4 separate regions of the Homo sapiens genome follow, and all the other regions are linked to region 3. Evidence: promoter capture Hi-C in human tissues and cell types (Jung and others, 2019). All regions are on one chromosome and are shown on one strand. Each heading gives the region's core, a stretch centred on a gene start or on the middle of the fragment in contact. The rest is flanking DNA. Distances are from core to core; before and after follow the strand shown. Region 1 overlaps LINGO2 (leucine rich repeat and Ig domain containing 2). Region 2 overlaps LINGO2 (leucine rich repeat and Ig domain containing 2). Region 3 holds the start of C9orf72 (C9orf72-SMCR8 complex subunit). Region 4 has its middle 6.1 kb from the start of LINGO2.

Evidence for each region. Contacts are between HindIII fragments. The study calls those that stand out against the background at their distance.
Region 1: a contact is called between a fragment that was not itself captured here and the fragment with the promoter of C9orf72 in region 3, in 1 of the 25 tissues and cell types used here (dorsolateral prefrontal cortex).
Region 2: a contact is called between a fragment that was not itself captured here and the fragment with the promoter of C9orf72 in region 3, in 1 of the 25 tissues and cell types used here (dorsolateral prefrontal cortex).
Region 4: a contact is called between a fragment that was not itself captured here and the fragment with the promoter of C9orf72 in region 3, in 1 of the 25 tissues and cell types used here (dorsolateral prefrontal cortex).

What each region holds. Positions count from the first base shown.
Region 1 is chr9:28,774,620-28,778,883 of GRCh38, reverse strand. All of the region lies in intron 2 of LINGO2 (leucine rich repeat and Ig domain containing 2), which reads left to right. Among named protein-coding and RNA genes, the nearest start is that of MIR876, 87 kb to the left of the region's middle. RefSeq lists an enhancer at 3,246-3,745. The HindIII fragment of the contact is 3,198 bases long and covers 1,391-4,264 here.
Region 2 is chr9:28,966,629-28,970,552 of GRCh38, reverse strand. The region is part of intron 1 of LINGO2 (leucine rich repeat and Ig domain containing 2); the gene reads left to right. Among named protein-coding and RNA genes, the nearest start is that of MIR873, 80 kb to the right of the region's middle. RefSeq lists an enhancer at 1-408. The HindIII fragment of the contact is 4,046 bases long and covers 1-3,801 here.
Region 3 is chr9:27,571,905-27,575,718 of GRCh38, reverse strand. C9orf72 (C9orf72-SMCR8 complex subunit) reads left to right here and starts at 2,238. Exons shown (of 11, transcript NM_018325.5): 1 at 2,238-2,288. RefSeq lists enhancers at 1,629-2,156, 2,755-2,844 and a silencer at 2,165-2,244. The HindIII fragment of the contact is 8,764 bases long and covers 1-3,814 here.
Region 4 is chr9:29,217,573-29,221,826 of GRCh38, reverse strand. No RefSeq gene overlaps it. Among named protein-coding and RNA genes, the nearest start is that of LINGO2, 6.1 kb to the right of the region's middle. The HindIII fragment of the contact is 4,288 bases long and covers 100-4,254 here.

The sequences.
Region 1 (4,264 bases), core at 1,740-4,239, 1.2 Mb before region 3:
TCCATGTATTTGCTGTTTTTAAATGTAACTTTTTTTGTGTTTTCAATAGATATCTCTTCTAGCTCAAAGCCACTTCATATGAAAATGTTAAATGAAAAATTCCTATTTTAGCTATCAGAGAGTTACTTATCAAGAGAACATGGAGACATTTTATTTTGTTTTGTTTTTGCAGAGCAAGTTGAAAAATTCTAACCTTGGCCCTAGGGTATTTCATCAGGAATAATCTTAAGTAAAAGCTTGCCTTTCACTTTTCAAAAGTAAGATTGTCCCTGTGCTCATACTCTGGCCTTTGTAAATGAACTGAAAATAATTTGTATGCAGTTTCTCTGAACTTCTAGTATGTCATCAGGATTTAGTTCAACTTAATAGTACTTTTGAGAGAATTAAATTTAGAAAATAGCTGTATAGTGTTGATGCATTTGTAGTAGTAAGGTGGTGTCTTCAGTAAAGGAAAAAGTTGGCAACGAACCTTACAACACCTCCCTTGTTTCCTTGACCACTTTGATTTATAGTTTTCCCAGAAGAATACTTTTTCTGAGTTACTGATAAGAAAAAAAATCACATAAATTATTTAATCCATCCTTTTCCTTATGACTTATGAAGGTCTTACCCAAATCTTAACTTAGAGTGGCAAGAGGAAACATTTTATCTAAAGTAAAAGATTTAAAATAACATGGAAATATACTATTAGTTTAAAAGAGAAGGAGAAAATAAATTAACCCAATGAAGGAACTGCTTGCTTAAGTAGGAGTCAAAAGTGTGGAGTTATAGTCAACCATTCAGTAAAGGATAATTGCTGAAGCAATTAATCTTTATATGCAGAATGCTTCTATGCCACTATCAATCATATCAGAAAGACCCACATGGACTATGCACTATAGAGAAGGGTCCTCATGGTACCCATCAAAACTCGACATTCATTATTGCTCTCTAATGTAGCAAGAAGGCAGAAGGAACTATGGGATGTGCTGTCAGAAAAAGAGAAATCAGGATTTTAAAATGAAATAAAAAAGGATTTAATACCTTAAATTTATACACTGTCTTATTTGTGGAAGTCCCTTGCTTTGGCAGCTTATCAGAGCCAGCATAGTTATGGCCAGGACTTAACACGAGCAACTCAGCCACTGATGGGTCACAAATTTATAATGTCTCCTACCCACATCATGAGATTTTCCTTATTCTGTTCTCTGTCTTAGACCAAAAGATCTTTCTGTGAGATTATATGACGCACATTCCTGCACCTCTCTTCTCTTAAAGTAGAGTACCCTTTGCCTGTAACTCTCTCGTATTAAAATAGTGAAATCAATATATATCTTTCTGGAGAATTTGTATAAACACCTCACTGGCACACAGTTTGAGCTACAGAAAACTTTGTTTTTCCCAATACCTGATCTTGTATCGCCTCATATCTCTTTTATCGTCACTTGAGCTGTTGCTCCAGCTTTCAACAGCTTAGAAAACAGAATGGGAATTTTAGTGCCTAGAATGTAAACTGGTGGTTGAGTATCTTAAAATAGGACCCTGCCTACTTTTCTTCAGTTTTAGAGGTATTGTTTCAAGTTTCTATGCCTCCCTTTCTTCTGAAATAATGATTGTTTTTATTCAGTCTCAATTGTTCAACATGCATATAATTCATCAAATATTTACTGAGTGTATTAATCCCTTTTTACATTGCTAGAAGAGCTACCCGAGACTGGGTCATTTATGAAGAAAAGAGGTTTAATTGACTCACAGTTCCACAGACTGTAGAGAAGCATGATTGGGAGGCCTCAGGAAATTTACAATCATGGCGGAAGGGGAGGGGAAGAAAGCGCGTCTCACCAAGGCAGAGCAAGTGGGAGAGGGAGCAAAGGGGGACGTGCCACACACTTTTAAACAACCAGATCTCGTGAGAACTCACTATCATGAGAACAGCAAGGGGGAAATCCAAGGGGAAATCATCACCTCCCGCCAGGCCACTCCTACAATTTGACAAGAGATTTGGGCAGGGACACAAATCCAAACCATATTATGGAGTAACTTCTGTCTGACAAGTTGACTGAAAAAAAAAAAAGAGGCAGCTGTGTGACTGGGGTTCTATATACTCTATACTTCCTCTGTTCTGACACAAATCTCACTCATCGTTATTGCTTATTTACTTGACCAGTGGTGTTCTTTGACTTACAATAACCTTTGAAAAGGAAAGACAGTGTCTGTTTAGTTCATCATTGTATTTTCTGTGCTTAACATGGTACCTGGTATGCATCGTGCCCTTAACAATTTTTGTGGAATAGAGAGAGGGAGAATGCATGAAAGGAAACAGCTCCAGCATGGTTACCAGCTCATAATATTTTTTCTTTTGAGAAGATACTCTAGGGAAGGATTATAGCTACTGGTTAAATTAGTAATATTTGAATATTGAATTTGAGTAAACTTTCTGCATTGTTAGTTTTCATTATTTAGTTTTTGCATAATTCTAAAGGACAGGCAGAACAATTAAATGGCCATTTCTAGAGTTACAATTTAGAGTCAGTTATTTTGATTCAAAATGTCTGTAAAATAAAGCTTTTGTTCATTTGATTCATGGGCTAGCACATTAAAGTATAAGAAGGCAGAAAGAAAAAGAGAGAAAAAAATTGTGATAGCCTCCTTTTGGCTACTGTTTCTCATCTTTCACCACTTAAGTGGTCGTTCAACCATTCTCCTATCCTAAGGATCACTAAAGCTCACTGTTTCCTCACTGAAGCCAGGGGCTTATTCAAGAGTTAGATTTTGACTTATAACAAAAGTATTCCATAAACTGACTTTTTCAGGATCCTCAAAACCATGTTGTTAATAAACAAACCTACTCTTTCTTTGATGAACCCATCAAACACACACTCTGAGTGCTTGCCATGAGCCAGGGACTGGTGACATGAAAATTGCTGATTTCTGCCCTCAAGCACTTCAAATGTCCTTCTGGATTTTGAAGCAAAGGAGAAGATATATGATGTTACAATTTTTTTCATTATTCTCATTAAAGATGTCACCACTAGGGTCTCAAGGCATAACCAACTAGGTTTTCCAAACAAAGAGTGAACGAACAAAGTATATTTTCCCCAAATTTAGAAAATATCATAATATTTCAGAATGGCCAATAGTTTTGCATGGAGAATAAACTAAGAAGTACAAATCATTATCAGTATGCACATTTCTTAAAATTACATCTTTAATAGTTCTTAGCAGATGTCAATCATGAAATTCTTCTTCTCAGGCAGGACTCATGTAAGTTCATTGAACATTAGACTTATAATATTTAAGGCCCCATAGTCCAGTGATCTTACTTAATGTTCAGGAAGTTTGAGGCCCAAAAAGATATGTATTCTTTCCCATGGCATCTAGAACATAATTGACCAGGGAACTATGTGACTTCCAAACCATGCTGGTATTTAAAGAAGCCATTGGACCTTTTAGAAAATTATCAGGCAGGCCATGCACTCTAAAGATTCAGTACCTATGCACAGATAGTTTCCACTATCTTTGGGGCTCAGAAACCTGGCTCAGATAGCAGTGAGATTCACAAATGGAAAGAATCCCTGTTTGAAGGGAGTGAACCAATGATGTGCTTCTCCAAAATCAAGTGGTGGTACAACTGTGTAATGTAGGGAGCAGCTTTAGAAAATGGGTGGCTTTTCACAACCAAAACACCGGGACCTTTCCTGTGCTAAGAAACAGAGAATCCAGAGTTCGGCTCAGCAGTCAGTGACTGCCAAGCAAAGCTTCTCCTCTAAGGCACAACTCATAACTCTGTTTTGCCTCCTATGCTCACTTTGGCAGCATCACCAGCAATATCCGCACACACATTATTGGTCACTCCCCTCCCCTTCTTCCAGTTGACTCTGTTAACATGTTTATTGCCAGGCATACTAAAAAAGCAAAGCTTTGACAAACAATTTACTTATTCGACGATTTGTTCCTGTGTGGTCTTTGAAATGCAAAACACATAAACAGTCAAGTTTAAGGTCCAGCGCTTTCATTTTGGTTAAATATATACAGCTGTTAAAATAGGGGAAACATTAATTTTCCTTATTATTAATTTGATTTGAAAAACCCACAATTTTGTTGATTCCCACTGAAAAAATTGAACTTTGCAATACTTTGTGTTATAATGTAGATATTCCTGAACGTAATTTACTTTGATCCTTTACCACTACATATTGGATTGTAAATTAGCTATCCTCCCTGTGGATTTAGAAGTGCAGTCACTGTATCTGTAATCTGGTTTTAGCGACCTCTAGTGCCAGAA
Region 2 (3,924 bases), core at 529-3,028, 1.4 Mb before region 3:
TCCACACCCTGCCACTGCTGGGGGGTGGGGGAGGGGTTGCATTAGCGATTCGAGATTTTTTCTACCTCTTCATTGCCTCTTTCATGGATAGGATATTAAAACTAGGTAGTGTGAGTGCTCACCTGATTTTTTGTTCTGATGAAGGTGCTTTTCTTGTGTAAATACTTGTTAATTTGGTGTCCTTTTCAGGGGGACCATTGGTGGAATCTTGTATTCTACCATCTTGCTCCCTACTCCAAGGTGAGGTTTTGAAATGCAAATGAAATGTCTTCCTTTTCCTAAAAGCAGTTTCTTCACTTGGTTTCCAGTAGTCTAGGCCCTTCAGTAGCATGTCTCATCAGCCACTTCTTTTCAATCTCTTTTGCTCACTCTTCTTTTCTCTGGCCTTCCTAACACTGATGTGCCCTAAGCTTAGTGCTAGGACCTCATCTCTTCTCTTCACTATTATTCCCTTCTCTTCCCTTTCTTCCCCTTCCTATCCTTCTTTTCCCACGTACACTGTCTTCCTTTGTGAACACATCTCATTGTCAGAAATCCGAAGTATATGCTGATGAATCATAAACACATATTTCTAGATCAAACTCTCTTCTGTGCTCCGGATTTCTAGATGTAACTGCCTACTTAAATGTCTAATAGACATCCTAAACTCATTACAAAGAAACATGATATTTTAATTTTCTAAAGGAAAACAAAAACAAAAACAAAACTTTTGCTTTAGCTACTGTCTGCTTCATTTCATTTAATGGTAACTCCACTCTTGGGTGCTCCATGGCAAAATCCTAAGAATCATTCTTGAATCTCCTCTCTTCCTTCATACCCACGTCAATTCATTAGCAAATCCTTCTAGTTCTTCTTGGAAACCATAATCAAAAGCCTGTTACTTTTCACTATCTGTACTACCATTACCCTGGTCCAAGTTATCAGGAACAGGGTAATGAATTATTAGAGCCACTTCCTGACTGGTTTTTCTGCTTTCACCTCTACCTGTTTTTAGTCTTTTCTCAAACAGAAGCCAAAGTCGTCTTTTAAATTTCAAACCAGCTCAAAAACATCTAATGATTTCTTATTTCTCTTCAGCTCAAAAGCCAAAGTAATACTATGTCCCGTTACCTTTTAGACTTTGCTTTCTATTTATGTTAATTTTCCTAGCCCTGCTTCAGTCTCAGTTACCAGCACAGGGCCCACTACCTGCCCCTGGTCTTTATACTTGCTGTTACTCTTGCTTGGATTTTTTTTCCTCAGATATTAGTCTTTCCTTTGAAGACTTTACTCAAGTGTTACCTTTTCAATAAGGGATGTGCTGACCACTCTGTAAAATTGTGTCACATAAGACATCCAATATGCCTTAATCTGCTCTTTTTATTTTTTTAACACAGTGCTGATCTTCTTCTAATGTATAAATAATTTACTACTATGCTATGCTTATTATTATTTATCTATAACCCCAGTAAAATGTGATCTCTACCAGGGCAAGTATTTTTTTCTTTAATGATTTTGTCTTACTTTCAAAAAAAATTTACATATAACTATTGATTGAATGAAGGCATCACTATGTTATATACTTGTGCTCCCACATTCTCTTTTATTTCTGACTTCTGATAAGAATCACTATGTTCCTTTGGGAGCATGTGTCTACTAGAAACTATTATTACCCATAGGCATATATCTTAATTGCACTCTGTCGTGGTTTGATAACAATAAAGATCTGATTGCCATGTCACATTTTTTCAAGGTATCATCAGCTGTGTTAAAATTGCACTTTATACATCAAAATTAATACAAGTTCCAAGAAACATGAAGATAATTCTTTGTTTTAAAAATGAAACTAGTTATGGAATCTGGGATATGAAGTTTAATACCTAAAAAAGGACTTCTGAGATCTAATTCATTCTCTGCATTTATATTGGAACACAGAGGTTAAAAGAACACCAATTCATCCAAAAGACATCTATTACATGCTATTAACATATGCCAGGCTCTGTCATAGGCTTTTGAAGTACAAAAGTGAAGTGTAACATTATTTTTACCTTTAAGAAGGTAGGGTAGCTTCTAATATTGTAAGTAAGATAGACAAGTAAACATTAATTTCATTACAATGAGATTTTTACTTTAACAAGAAACACCTGAAGAAACCTTGCTTGCAATTTAGCCCTGGGAAAGTCACTTGGGATCTACTGTGATTCTTCATCTCCTAGTTCATTGTAACAGGATAAAAGGGATCCAGGCTTTGTAACAAAGTAAAAGGAGATATAGCCCAGCCACTCCAGTTTTTGAAAGGGAAATGTCCTAATAATCAATTTCTAGAGCAAAAACTCGGCATGTCTATTTTCTGTAAGTCTAAAAGATCTGTTTAATTATTTATCAATTTTGTACCGATGTCTGTGATCTGTGGCTCATCTGTTAAATGTTGCAAATTTTGTTCTAGTTTTATAACATTCTTAGTGATTTCATTAGTCCATTATAAAGTTCAGATAAAAGTATGACTGAAAAGTCTACTTCAGGGTGTCAAATAATATAAACTTAAAAGTTCAATCCAATGTTCAATTTGGTGTGCAAGACTTCATTAATATATGTATGTTATTTGAATAAAACAAAGTAGTACTTACTTAATATTAGGGTTTTGATAAAACTTCCTTAAAGCTTCTTATGAAAACTTATTTGAAAATGATCAAGAAGTTGCATAAATCTTCTCTGTCTTCTCTCTTTCTCTTTCTCGCTCTCTGCTAGAGGTGAAAGAGAAGAAATAGATTGTATGCTATACATCTTACAGTTTTAGTGATATTAAAAACACCTGTTCCCTTCCTGTCTATCAGAAATACATCCTAACCTTGTCTGACAAGACTATGTTGATGAATTATAACATTTTTCCCTTAGATATCTAGAGTCAACTCAGACTAATGGTCAATCTTGTTGCCAGGGGGAATAAAAGGTGATAAAACATAACTGAATGATGTAGGTGGCAAAAAGTCAGAAATTCAACAGTAATAACATGATCATCCCATGCAACTAGCTTCTCTCTCTAAAAGAAAAGGTGACTGAAATGTGGAGGAATGCCCCAGGTCATATTTGGTTTTATTCTTCTCACATTTACTACCAGAAATGATTCAAGGTTTATTTCCTTCTGCTTCAGTTTTCTCATTTTCTTCAGTCCCCTAGGAACTGGTTCTTGGCCTAGTGGTAGGATAGTTTGTATTCTCCAACACTGACTTTTCCTTACAATATTGCTTCAGTTAAATTCTTTAGGCTCTACTTCATGCCATTTTCCTAAGTCTTTCAAAAAATAATTATTTGGGAACTGTGTTAGGTATAAGAACTCAGCAAAGCCCTCAAATTTGAGTGTGAATTGGGCACTGCCTTGGGCCTCAAGGCAGATAACAAACAAGGCAAGTAGGACTCAGCTCTAGGGGTGCTCATGAAACAGAAGATTTTCAGTGTAAGGCAGTTGGCATTAGAGATACAGTCTAGTCCCACAGCTTGCAGACTGTATGGTCATGCGTGAAATACCGTCAGTGCCTCATTTCTTCTTTTCCAAAATGGGTGAAATCTTGAAGAGTAATTATGATCATAAGCAGCTTTCACATAACTCAGCTCTCAATATATGTTTCTCTATTCTTTAAGTAAAGGGAGGACTCAATTTTATGCATCAGTAAGTGGGTATTAGTTAAAAGTGTACCCCCTACCTCTCGGTAAAGGCAAAAACAATATACTCTACTTATTTTTCTTTTCAAATAATGCTGCTTTTAACTGTTGTTTAAAGAACTCTTCCTGACATTGAAAGCAGTTCATCCTGGGGACTCTACATTACTTTTATGGAATACATTAAACTCTTTCATGGGAGGCGATGTGGTCTACTGAAAAACAAATAAACAAAATATGCTCCATGTCAGGATAGTTAGATGTTTTACCTTAACTCTACCATACGCT
Region 3 (3,814 bases), core at 989-3,488:
ATCTCTGTCCCCACCCAAATCTCATGTTCAACTGTAATCCCCAGTGTTGGAGGTTGGGCCTGGTGGGAGGTGAGTGGATTATGGGGTGGCTTCTAATGGTTTTGTACAGTCCCCTCTTGGTACTATATAGTGAGTTCTGACAAGATCTAGTTGTTTAAACGTATGTAGCACCTCCCATTTCTCTCTTCCCCCAGTTCCTGCCATGTGAAGTCTGGGGTCTCCCTATGCCTTCCATCATGATTTTAAGTTCCCTATGGCCTGCCCAGAAGCTGATCCAGCCATGCTTCTTGTACAGCCTGCAGAACTGTGAGCCATTAAACTTTTCTTTATAAATTACCCAGTTTCAGTTATTTCTTTATAGCAGTGTAAGAATGGACTAACACAATTATTAACGCTAGTCCTCATGTTGTACATTAAATCTCTAGATGTATTAGACGTAACTGCAACTTTGTACCCTACCCTACAATTTTCTTTCCCCCCAAGCCCCCCAACCAAGGGTCTACTCTGTTTCTATAAATTCAGTTGTTTTTTAATTCCACGTATAAGTGAAGTACAACTCAGTGTAGAAACTTGGTAAATGCTAGCTACTTGTTATAAGCTGTCAGTCAAAATAAAAATACAGAGATGAATCTCTAAATTAAGTGATTTATTTGGGAAGAAAGAATTGCAATTAGGGCATACATGTAGATCAGATGGTCTTCGGTATATCCACACAACAAAGAAAAGGGGGAGGTTTTGTTAAAAAAGAGAAATGTTACATAGTGCTCTTTGAGAAAATTCATTGGCACTATTAAGGATCTGAGGAGCTGGTGAGTTTCAACTGGTGAGTGATGGTGGTAGATAAAATTAGAGCTGCAGCAGGTCATTTTAGCAACTATTAGATAAAACTGGTCTCAGGTCACAACGGGCAGTTGCAGCAGCTGGACTTGGAGAGAATTACACTGTGGGAGCAGTGTCATTTGTCCTAAGTGCTTTTCTACCCCCTACCCCCACTATTTTAGTTGGGTATAAAAAGAATGACCCAATTTGTATGATCAACTTTCACAAAGCATAGAACAGTAGGAAAAGGGTCTGTTTCTGCAGAAGGTGTAGACGTTGAGAGCCATTTTGTGTATTTATTCCTCCCTTTCTTCCTCGGTGAATGATTAAAACGTTCTGTGTGATTTTTAGTGATGAAAAAGATTAAATGCTACTCACTGTAGTAAGTGCCATCTCACACTTGCAGATCAAAAGGCACACAGTTTAAAAAACCTTTGTTTTTTTACACATCTGAGTGGTGTAAATGCTACTCATCTGTAGTAAGTGGAATCTATACACCTGCAGACCAAAAGACGCAAGGTTTCAAAAATCTTTGTGTTTTTTACACATCAAACAGAATGGTACGTTTTTCAAAAGTTAAAAAAAAACAACTCATCCACATATTGCAACTAGCAAAAATGACATTCCCCAGTGTGAAAATCATGCTTGAGAGAATTCTTACATGTAAAGGCAAAATTGCGATGACTTTGCAGGGGACCGTGGGATTCCCGCCCGCAGTGCCGGAGCTGTCCCCTACCAGGGTTTGCAGTGGAGTTTTGAATGCACTTAACAGTGTCTTACGGTAAAAACAAAATTTCATCCACCAATTATGTGTTGAGCGCCCACTGCCTACCAAGCACAAACAAAACCATTCAAAACCACGAAATCGTCTTCACTTTCTCCAGATCCAGCAGCCTCCCCTATTAAGGTTCGCACACGCTATTGCGCCAACGCTCCTCCAGAGCGGGTCTTAAGATAAAAGAACAGGACAAGTTGCCCCGCCCCATTTCGCTAGCCTCGTGAGAAAACGTCATCGCACATAGAAAACAGACAGACGTAACCTACGGTGTCCCGCTAGGAAAGAGAGGTGCGTCAAACAGCGACAAGTTCCGCCCACGTAAAAGATGACGCTTGGTGTGTCAGCCGTCCCTGCTGCCCGGTTGCTTCTCTTTTGGGGGCGGGGTCTAGCAAGAGCAGGTGTGGGTTTAGGAGGTGTGTGTTTTTGTTTTTCCCACCCTCTCTCCCCACTACTTGCTCTCACAGTACTCGCTGAGGGTGAACAAGAAAAGACCTGATAAAGATTAACCAGAAGAAAACAAGGAGGGAAACAACCGCAGCCTGTAGCAAGCTCTGGAACTCAGGAGTCGCGCGCTAGGGGCCGGGGCCGGGGCCGGGGCGTGGTCGGGGCGGGCCCGGGGGCGGGCCCGGGGCGGGGCTGCGGTTGCGGTGCCTGCGCCCGCGGCGGCGGAGGCGCAGGCGGTGGCGAGTGGGTGAGTGAGGAGGCGGCATCCTGGCGGGTGGCTGTTTGGGGTTCGGCTGCCGGGAAGAGGCGCGGGTAGAAGCGGGGGCTCTCCTCAGAGCTCGACGCATTTTTACTTTCCCTCTCATTTCTCTGACCGAAGCTGGGTGTCGGGCTTTCGCCTCTAGCGACTGGTGGAATTGCCTGCATCCGGGCCCCGGGCTTCCCGGCGGCGGCGGCGGCGGCGGCGGCGCAGGGACAAGGGATGGGGATCTGGCCTCTTCCTTGCTTTCCCGCCCTCAGTACCCGAGCTGTCTCCTTCCCGGGGACCCGCTGGGAGCGCTGCCGCTGCGGGCTCGAGAAAAGGGAGCCTCGGGTACTGAGAGGCCTCGCCTGGGGGAAGGCCGGAGGGTGGGCGGCGCGCGGCTTCTGCGGACCAAGTCGGGGTTCGCTAGGAACCCGAGACGGTCCCTGCCGGCGAGGAGATCATGCGGGATGAGATGGGGGTGTGGAGACGCCTGCACAATTTCAGCCCAAGCTTCTAGAGAGTGGTGATGACTTGCATATGAGGGCAGCAATGCAAGTCGGTGTGCTCCCCATTCTGTGGGACATGACCTGGTTGCTTCACAGCTCCGAGATGACACAGACTTGCTTAAAGGAAGTGACTATTGTGACTTGGGCATCACTTGACTGATGGTAATCAGTTGTCTAAAGAAGTGCACAGATTACATGTCCGTGTGCTCATTGGGTCTATCTGGCCGCGTTGAACACCACCAGGCTTTGTATTCAGAAACAGGAGGGAGGTCCTGCACTTTCCCAGGAGGGGTGGCCCTTTCAGATGCAATCGAGATTGTTAGGCTCTGGGAGAGTAGTTGCCTGGTTGTGGCAGTTGGTAAATTTCTATTCAAACAGTTGCCATGCACCAGTTGTTCACAACAAGGGTACGTAATCTGTCTGGCATTACTTCTACTTTTGTACAAAGGATCAAAAAAAAAAAAGATACTGTTAAGATATGATTTTTCTCAGACTTTGGGAAACTTTTAACATAATCTGTGAATATCACAGAAACAAGACTATCATATAGGGGATATTAATAACCTGGAGTCAGAATACTTGAAATACGGTGTCATTTGACACGGGCATTGTTGTCACCACCTCTGCCAAGGCCTGCCACTTTAGGAAAACCCTGAATCAGTTGGAAACTGCTACATGCTGATAGTACATCTGAAACAAGAACGAGAGTAATTACCACATTCCAGATTGTTCACTAAGCCAGCATTTACCTGCTCCAGGAAAAAATTACAAGCACCTTATGAAGTTGATAAAATATTTTGTTTGGCTATGTTGGCACTCCACAATTTGCTTTCAGAGAAACAAAGTAAACCAAGGAGGACTTCTGTTTTTCAAGTCTGCCCTCGGGTTCTATTCTACGTTAATTAGATAGTTCCCAGGAGGACTAGGTTAGCCTACCTATTGTCTGAGAAACTTGGAACTGTGAGAAATGGCCAGATAGTGATATGAACTTCACCTTCCAGTCTTCCCTGATGTTGAAGATTG
Region 4 (4,254 bases), core at 994-3,493, 1.6 Mb before region 3:
TCTCTCTGTACATTCAGCCTCACATTCTCAAATATTACATTCTTAAAAAACAAGCTCCAACCTTCAGGAATTCTTTTTTCATCTTCCAGTTTAGGGAATCCCATTTCTCCGTGTTTATAAGCCTAGTTTGTTAAACAAGCATTTGTACCTAATTGCATACAGCTTTAAGACACATGTTATATTGTTTTCCTACATTGGTATTTAATGTTTGTTTTGAGCATTTTATATGTTCATTTGTATTTGTCACCACAACTCTGATTAAATCATCTAACTATCCACCAGCAAAAACATAACAACAAAAAATTTTCCCTCCTTTACCTCTTTTCTTGTTTGTAAAAGGATACTATCCTTCAGTTCTATACTTCTCCCACACCACTGCTACTCGCATGAAATCCATCTCTAAATTATGTTATTTCTGTCTTATCTCTCTGGATTTGTCTCTTTCTTTTTCCATACCTATGCTCATTGTCTTAGTTCAGGGAATATCTTTAATTGCTAACTGGCCTTGCCTTTCCTTCTTCATTCTTCTTCCTCTGACATGATCTTATGAGAATGAGCTTATTAATGTCCAGGCTTCAAGCTGACTTCTCCAATCTCATCTATTAGTTGCTTTTCCCTTCTTAGTTTTGCTAGAGCTGTCATAACAAAGAACTGCAGAGTGGGTTGATTTAGCAACATAAATTTATTTTCTCACAGTTCAGGAGACCAGAAGTCTAATTTCAAAGTGTCAGCAGGGTTGTTTTCTCCCGAGTTCTCTCTACTTGACTTGGCTGCCCTCTTGCTGCCTTTTCACATGGCCCACCCTTTGGGCACAGGCAACCCTGGTGTCTCTCTCTGTGTCCTAATTTCTTATTTTTATAAGGACATCAGGCACATTAGATTTAGACTCACCCTAATAGCTTCCTTTTTACTTAATCACCTCTTTAAAGGCTCTTTTAATATAGTTACATTCTTAGGTACTGGGAGTTAGTAACTACTTAAATTTTAGCTTAAACATCTGTCTGCAGTTACCACAATGACAGATGTCTCTTCTCTTCCTCCTACCCTCTGTCCCTATCTCATTTTTGAAAACTTTACACAGCTTTCGACCTCTTTGTTTGCATATTCAGGCTTCTGCCAAGTCTTCCTTTGCAATTCTGCTTAGAATATTTTTCTCTGGGTAGCATTCCCTGAACTACCCTGTCTGATCTTTCCCTGTTCCCATGTTCCCTAAAATGATTCAGAGGGCCCTCCTATGTGCTTCTACAGCACCCTTGTCCTAGACCTAGCAAGTCTCAGAGCCAGAATTCAAATCCAGGAGGTCTAACTCCAAAGACTGCAGATTAACCATAACACAGAGATGCATGAATTTGCAGATAAATTGCTTATAAACTGCCCATTATCATCAAGGTGAATTTTAAACTCCTTGTCCTGGTATGTGAGTTCATCAGCAGCTGGCCCCTAGATGACAGCTCCAGTGTCATCTTTCAACTGCCATTGCAAGAACTGCCTTATGTTTAAGATTTAAGGAAAAGGGAAATTTGAACCAAGGTAGAAGTGAAAGCTTTCTATTGTTGTTTCATTTTTATAATGTGCAACAGAGAATGGCATTTTGAAATTTTATAGGATGGCTTATGAATCCACTGACTGACAAATGGAGAGACAGTTGAAGAAAACAAACACCACTTCTTTGTAACAAATCAAATGGGCCAAAGTTGTTGTAAAAAGAAAGGAAAATTTATGATTCTTTTCCTGACCACACTACCTTGTCTGATTTCCTCCCTTGTCAAAAAAATATCAGAAATAGTCACCAGGACACCCACTTATATTAGGAGGATGACAAGTGGTAAATCACTGACACTTGAGTAGTTTCTTCAGCAAAACACTCCACTGCTTTGAAAGATATTTATTCAGACTCTATGTTTGATCTGTTTATTTCATTGTAGCATGTGTTTTGAACACTAGAATAATGACAGAATTGTAAGCAAGAGACTTAATTACAACATAATATTATTGTATAAAATAATAGTTTAGGTTAAAAGCAATGTGGCATAATGGTACTGAGTTGAGATTCTGTTTCTGTACTGAACCACTGCGAGACTTTGAGGAAACAATTAACTTCATGTTGATCATTAGCAGAGTAATAATAACATTGCCTAAGCCATGGAGTTGTTTTAAAAATTCAATAAAAGGCTGGGTTTGGTGGCTCATGTCCGTAATCCCAGCACTTTGGGAGGCCAAGGCATGTGGATCACATGGTCAGGAGTTCGAGATCAGCCTGGTCAACATGGTGAAACCCCATCCCTACCAAAAAATACAAAAATTAGCTGGGTGTGGTGGTGGGTGCCTGTAATCCCAGCTACTTGGGAGGCTGAAGCAGGAGAATCACTTGAACCCGGGAGGCAAAGGTTGCAGTGAGTGGAGATCACACCACTACACTCCAGCCTGGGTGACACAGTGAGACTATGTCCCAAAAAAAAAAAAAAAAAATTCAACAAGGTAACATACATAACGCAATTAGCACAGTGTGTGGCAAACAGGTATACTAAGTTGTCTCGCTACTGTCCATGGTTTTTATCCAGTCAGGATCCATGTACCGTTTTTGGCCTGTTGAGCCTGTAATCAACAGTAAAGCCAAGTCCCTGTTCTAACAGACCTTATAGCTAATATAGAACCTTCTGGTGTAGGTTAAAAAGCTGTGATCTAATGTTAGACAGCCACGGTTTAAACCCTGACTGTACCACTTAAGCAGCTATGTGACCTTGGCAAGGCTTTTTGACTTTTCTGTGACTGTTTCTTCATCTATACAATGAAGATAATTATTATTAGATTTGTTGTTAGGATTAAGTGAATAAATAAATCTAGTTCTCCTAGAGTATTTCTGGTACCTAAAAGGTGTCATTTAAGTTGCTTACTTTTTGAATTAAGCCATTTTTCACGCTATTTCTTAAGAGTGAATTTCTCAAATCAGACTAACATGAATCAGAGATCATAAGCAGTATTAGCCTAAACTAAATAATTTCAAAGGTACAAACAAAAGGCTTATCAAAAGTTTCAAAATAATGGCTCTGCAGGTCTTTCTTTCCTGTGAAAGCCACATCTCTTTAGCCCAGAATACATAAAGCCTCCAAGTGAGGCGTGCATGGTTCCTCATACAGTTGGTAATGCTTCAATTATAAAACATCTCCATTTTATACCCCAGCACTGCAAACACTATATGCCATTTTCCAGGAAGCCATCCCTTATAAATTCTGGTTCTATCTATTATAGGTAATCCTTAGTCAGATATCCTACTAAGGGCCCAAAGACAACCCTCTTCCTTCTAGCAAATACCATTAGTCTATTTACCCAGGGGAGGTAGAATTGACAAGGAGATTAGACCTGCTCACTTGTTATGGACTAAACGTTGTACCTTCTTCCCACCCCAAATTCATGTGCTGAAGCTCTAACATCTAATGTGGTGGTGTGTAGAGATGAGACCTTTGGGAGGTAATTAGGGTTAGACAGGTCATGTGAGTGGGACCTTCATGATAGGATTAGTTGCTATATAAACTGTGGCTGAAATGTCTCTGTTTCTTTTTCTCTCTTCCCCCCAACACACACTGAGAAAAGGCCATGTGAGGACATAGTTAGAAGGCAGCTGTATGCAGGCTAGGAAAAGAGCCATCACCAAGAACCAAATTGGCTAGCATCTTAATCTTGGCCTTCCAAGAACTGTGAAAAATGTTTCTCACAGAACTCCAGAACTGTGAGAAATACATTCCTACTATTTAAGCTACCCATGCGGTGGTATTTTGTTACAGTAGTCTGAACTAAGAAACCCCTTTTTGCTTCTTTCCCTCAAGGTCTCTCCCTGGCAGGAGTAAATGAGCAAATGTATTGCAGGCCAGGTTATTTCACAACTTTCACCTACCCTTTTTAAAAACAACAACAACAACAGCAACAAACATCTTTTTTAAGTAAAAGGCGGAGATACATCTGTTATACTTTTCTTTCCATGCAACCCCTCAAAGGCACTCTTTTATTTTATAAGGTAAAACTTACACACGGTTCCAAAATCAAAAGAACATAAAAAGTCTAACCTCTACCTTTGATACCATCTGCCCACTTACACCATGACCCCAACCAATTTTATTAATTTTTGGAGACAACACCTTGCTTCACCTTGCAATTTTCACCTAAAAATATCATGGAGACCTTTTTATACCAATTAAGGAGAATTTCCTCATTATTTTACATAGCAGCTTAATCTTCCATGATATGGATATTTTGTAT